2 separate regions of the Homo sapiens genome follow, and region 1 is linked to region 2. Evidence: promoter capture Hi-C in 16 types of primary human blood cells and fetal thymus (Javierre and others, 2016). All regions are on one chromosome and are shown on one strand. The core of a region is centred on a gene start or on the middle of the fragment in contact, and the rest is flanking DNA. Distances in the headings are between cores, read along the strand shown. Region 1 holds the start of PPP1R14D (protein phosphatase 1 regulatory inhibitor subunit 14D). Region 2 holds the start of RPUSD2 (RNA pseudouridine synthase domain containing 2).

Region 1 (2,700 bases), core at 14-2,513, 260 kb after region 2:
TTGCAGTGAGCCAAAATCACGGCATTGCACTCCAGGCTGGTTTACAGAGTAAGACTGTCTCAAAAAAAGGCAAAAGAAAAAAGAAATGTGGCCCATGTGACTGGGGAACTGAATAATTTTATTTAATTATAACTCATTTAAAGTCAAACAGCTACACATGGCTGATGGCTACAGAATTGGAAAATGTAGCTCTAGGCTGGGCATGGTGGTGCACACCTGTAATCCCAGCACTTTGAGAGGCCGAGGCAGGCAGACTGTTTGAGCCAAGGAGTTCAAGACCAGCCTGGGCAACATGGTGAAAAGCCGTCTCTACAAAAAAAAATACAAAAAAATTTGCCAGGCGTGGTGGTGCGCACCTGTAGTCCCAGCTACTCAGGAGGCTGAAGTGGGAGGATGGCTTGAACCCAGCAGGCAGAGCAGTGAGCTGAGATTGCACTACTGCATTCCAGCCTGTGCAACAGGGCAAGACTTTGTCTCAAAAACAAACAAACAAACAAAAAACAAAAGAAAGAAAGAAAGAAAGAAACAAAGAAAAAGAAAAGAAACGAAAATGTAGCTCCGGACATGTATGTGCATTGAACATGGGAGTAAATAAAGATATAAAATTTTGAAACATAGTGTGACCAAGCATTTTCCCTTCTATTGTCTCATTTGAGCCTCAGAAAGTCCTATAAAGGAGATATGACAGGCACTAACAGCCCTATTATAGATTAGGGATGTTAAAAGACCTTCCCCAGATCACAAAGAGCATTAGAGGCACAGACAAGCCTAGAGGGAGGCAGACTTCTGGACTTCAAACCGATGCTTCTTTCTTTCATCAGTTACAAAAGCTTTCTCTTCACGGAAGCACCTCACATCAGCCCTCCAGCTCCTGTGAAGGTCTCAGTGCCCTGGGTGGACCCCAGGCCCCCATCTCCTCCCACTATCCGCTGTGCTACCTACCTGGAAGAGCTCCTGAACTTGAGCATCCACCCATTGCTCCATCTCCAGCCAGCGCTGGAGCTGGCCCCGGTCATACTTCACTGTCAGGCGGCTGGGTCTCCGGGACCTGGGTATCTTGGAGGAGTCCGGGTGGGACTTGGACTCTGAGTCTGTGGATGATGTCCTTCTCCTCCCAGAAGCCCAGTGGACCTTCTTACATGGGTTCTCCCCATCTGGGCTGGGAGATGTGCAGGAAGCAGGGCTTGAAGACAGCATGGAAGTATTGGTCTGGGCAAGGAGCTGGGAAAAACCGCCAGTTCTGAGCAGAGCCACAGAGGGAAGTGAGGAGACAGAGAACAGGAGAGGCCAGCAGAGAAGAAATGAAGGCAGGAGGAGGGCCAAGGCTCCCAGGGAGGGGCAAGGGCAAAGATCAATAGGACTTTGGTGCTGGGAATGCCAGTCTCCTGGCTCCTCACTGCCAGCCAGTGAGTGGCACTCCAGAGCCATGCCCCAGCCTCCCTTTCTGCAGCTTCTAGGGCCCAAAGTGGCATAAACTGCAGATGAGCAAAGGTCAAGAGGCTGCCATGCCCAGGGAGGAGGAAGGGGCCCTGGGGTCCTGAAGGGTACAGGGCTCCAATCGCTGCTCTATGGCCAGCTCTGGAATGGGACCTGAGTCGTTCTCACCTGAGATCCCTCTGTATCCCACCTTCCTGGGGCTGGATCCACTCTGGGCTCTGAGAAGCTGTGGTCAGATTCCGCAGAAGCAGGGTCCCTGGCTGGCAGGGATTCTTACTCAGAGCGTAGCACTACTGGGGGCAGAGCCCCAGCTGGTAGATAGAGTTGGAGGTCAGTTATTGATGGCTCCCGTAGGACCAGTGCCCCCAGTGTCTGGGTGTGTCCGAATGTAAACTGCTATCAGCCTGGCCTATAAAGGCAGTTTACCTGCTTGTAAAGGCAAATTTATCAAGACTTGTCTACTATGCCCGCTCCCCTGAGGCAACTGCTTAGGAAGCCATGTTTATTACCACGTGACCCTCCCCCGATTCATGTATTTGCTGACACAGAGGAAACCTGCAAACCTAACTTATACACAGGTGTCAGGGACTAATACTTCCAGGCATACATACTTGCATTCTAAGGCAGGGTATTTTTGTTTAGTCTTTTATAATGAAAATTTCTAAACTTTAAAAAAAAAAAGTGACAGAAGAACACTGTAATTTTTTTTTTTTTTTTTTTGAGATGGAGTCTCGCACTGTCACCCAGGCTGGGGGGCAATGCTGCGATCTTGGCTCACTGCAACATCCGCCTCCCAAGTTCAAGCAATTCTCCTGCCTCAGCCTCCCAAGAAGCTGGGATTACAGGCGCCCACCACCATGCCCGGATAATTTTTTGTATTTTTAGTAGAGACGAGGTTTCACTATGTTGCCCAGGCTGGTCTCAAATGCCTGACCTCATGATCCACCCGCCTCGGCCTCCCAAAGTGGTGGGATTACTGGAGTGAGCCACCGTGCCCAGCCTGTAATTTTTTTAAAATGGGGCCAGGCATGGTGGCTCACGCCTGTAATCCCAGCACTCTGGGAGGCCGAGGCGCGTGGATTGCTTGAGCTCAGGAGTTCAAGACCAGCCTGGGCAAAATGGTGAAATTCTCTCTCTACCAAAAAAAAAAATAATAATAATACAAAAAATTAGCTGCTTTGGGAGACCCAGGCGGGAAGATTGCTTGAGGCCAGTAGTTCAAGACCAGTCCGGGCAACACAGTGAGATCTTGTCTCCATTAAA
Region 2 (2,700 bases), core at 46-2,545:
TTTTTTTTTTTGGCAAACTAACATTGAAATGCCTCCTTATTTGGAAGAATCCCACTCTGGATACCAAAGAGGGTTAGATTCTTGGCCGGGCGCGGTGGCTTACGCCTGTAATCCCAGCACTCATAATATAAAAATTAGCCAGGCGTGGTGGTGCGTGCCTGTAGTCCCAGCCACTCAGGAGGCTGAGGCAGAAGAATGGCTTGAACTCAGGAGGCGGAGGTTGCAGTGAGGTGAAATCGCTCCACTGCACTCCAGCCTGGGCGACAGAGCAAGACTCCGTCTCAAAAAAAAAAAAAAAAAAAAAAAAAAAGAGGGTTAAATTCTTCCATCTCCAGGCACCCTGGAAGTGAGGGCTCAGAGCAATGAGGTTTGGCTGATGGAAGTCCTCCCCTGCAGGACTCTTAACCTTGGAAGAGGGACACAGAGACACAGGGAGATTTAGGGGTCTCCAAGGGGTGGCAGGGCTGCAGGAAAAAGAGTCCTTTGGCACAACATAGTTTCTTGTGTCTACTGCATCCCAACTGGGTTTCTTCCCTGACATGTCTGAAGCCAGGCTCTCAAAAGGCTTGGTTTCCCTTGATTTGGCCCTTTTTCTGAGCCTAGTCTCCAGTTGTCTTGTGAATTCTATGAGGCACTAATATACTTTCCATAATTCTATCTCTGATGAAATTAGCCAGAGTTGGTTTATTTTGCACTTAAGAACCCTCGCCATATATCCTCTGATCTATTTGCAGTTTTAATCTCAGGATGGAAGCATGTGGGAGGCGAATGGGGATCACTAATCCTTCTCATGCTGTTAGGGGGAAACACAGGTGTGAACACATTGCTTCTGGGGTGCTTGTGTGTGTTTTAAATACATATATAACAATCTTACTGAGATACAAGTCACATACTATAATATTGACCCTTTTAAAATATAGAATACAGTGGGTTTTAGTATATTCGCAGAGTTTAGCAATCTTTATTCTGGTTGTTAGTTTTTGTTTTGTCTTAAATAAAGCTCCTTTCAAGCGTTTCTTCAGACCCAAGGGACTACTCGGAATTTACACGACCTACTCCTGTCATGGCCTTTACACGGAGCAATTCCAAGGGTTTCCTTTATAAATAACGTCGTATCTCCCTAATAGGAAGACGTCTGAGTAAGGTCACTTTTGGTGAGACATTTACAGTCTCTCATCTCTAAGCTCACTCAATTCACCTAATTTAATTCGAGCAGCTCACTCATTCGCTCACTTATCGCAGACCCCGCCTCGGGACTGGGCCTCCCTGATTCGCTGGGGCCGAGTGACGTCCTCAGATCGCGACCCTGGGAGTGGAGTGGGGGCAGCGTGGTTATGTGGCTGGACCGCCGCGGATGGCTCAGGGTTCTTGGACATTGGCGCTACGACCTTAGGCGCCCTAGCTTTACCAGGACTTGGAGTGGCGATAAGGGCCCAATGGCAGAAACAGTGTCTACCCAGGTTGGGACAGAGGGCGGGCTGAGGGCTTCGCATCAGCAAAACGGTGACGCTGGTGGCGACGCGAAGGTTGAGCTGTCCCCCGGGCCCCCGAAGCCGGCTGGCCGGGAAGTGGAGCCGGCCCCAGTAGGCGGGGAGCATCCCTCGGCTGCAGCCCCAGGCCCGGGCAAGCATAAGAAGCGGCGGGGCGCAACCAGGGAGCGTGTCGTGCCGCCCCCGAAGAAGCGGCGGACCGGGGTGAGCTTCGGAGATGAGCACTTTGCAGAAACCAGTTATTACTTCGAGGGCGGCCTGCGTAAGGTGCGGCCCTATTACTTTGACTTCCGGACCTACTGCAAAGGTCGCTGGGTGGGCCACAGCTTGCTGCACGTCTTCAGTACCGAGTTCCGAGCTCAGCCCCTGGCCTACTATGAGGCCGCGGTCCGGGCGGGCCGCCTGCAACTCAACGAGAAGCCGGTGCAGGACCTCAACATCGTGCTCAAGGTGGAGTCCTGATGGGGCTGGCCAGAAGCGGGCGAGGAAAAGGGGCCGGGTTTTGTTTTGTTTTGTTTTGTTTTTTAGTCTTAGTAAAGCATAGGTACTGGATTAAAATCATGGCAATTCTAAAGCGTTCTCGCTTTCATTTGGAACACTATTTTAGCCCGTTTCCCACCTCCGCAAGTGGCCAGGGTGTCTGTGCTTCAGGACTCAGCCTGTTTATCCTCTTCCTCAAGGCAGCTTCCTTGTTTCCAAGGGACAGAAGTTGGAATTTTCATAATTCCTTTAAACACCGTCTTGTGGCAAGGGCACTGATCACTTTACCCTGCGTTGTAGATCTCTGTGCAAATAGTAATAATAGGGGCTATCATTTATGTCTCTTTACTGTGTGCTGGGCACAAAGTTAAACATTGTATGTCCACTAATTCTAATGACAGCCTTGTGAAGTAGGTATTGCCACTCCATTTTACCTCTGAGGAAACTAAGGAAACTCACAGGGGTAAGGCTATCAACAGTGCCACTACCAAAGCCTATGTTCCTATAACTACTACTTAAACTATTTAACATAGAGTTATGAGATGTCAGGGATAGAGACTAGAATTGTTTAGCCCAGTGCTTTGACTCCTTTAAAATTCCATCACATCTATGAGGTACCAGACACCCCTGTCAGAAGTAACACTGTTTACCTCTCAGTAACACTAGTTTACCATGGTTGTGAGTGGAGAAAAGGCGATTACAGCATTTGGGGAATGGATGGTTTTGGAGT

What was found. Contacts are between HindIII fragments. The CHiCAGO score rates a contact against its expected background, and 5 or more counts as called.
Region 1: the fragment with the promoter of PPP1R14D here is called in contact with the fragment with the promoter of RPUSD2 in region 2 in 4 of 17 cell types (M2 macrophages, endothelial precursors, M1 macrophages and 1 more); the score reaches 5.8 in M2 macrophages.

What each region holds. Positions count from the first base shown.
Region 1 is chr15:40,827,445-40,830,144 of GRCh38, forward strand. PPP1R14D (protein phosphatase 1 regulatory inhibitor subunit 14D) reads right to left here and starts at 1,264. Exons shown (of 4, transcript NM_017726.8): 1 at 943-1,264. The coding sequence starts at 1,197. The HindIII fragment of the contact is 4,675 bases long and covers 829-2,700 here.
Region 2 is chr15:40,568,004-40,570,703 of GRCh38, forward strand. It overlaps RPUSD2 (RNA pseudouridine synthase domain containing 2), which reads left to right and starts at 1,296. Exons shown (of 3, transcript NM_152260.3): 1 at 1,296-1,940. The coding sequence starts at 1,335. RefSeq lists enhancers at 1,238-1,567, 1,629-2,128, 1,878-1,927. The HindIII fragment of the contact is 4,663 bases long and covers 1-2,700 here.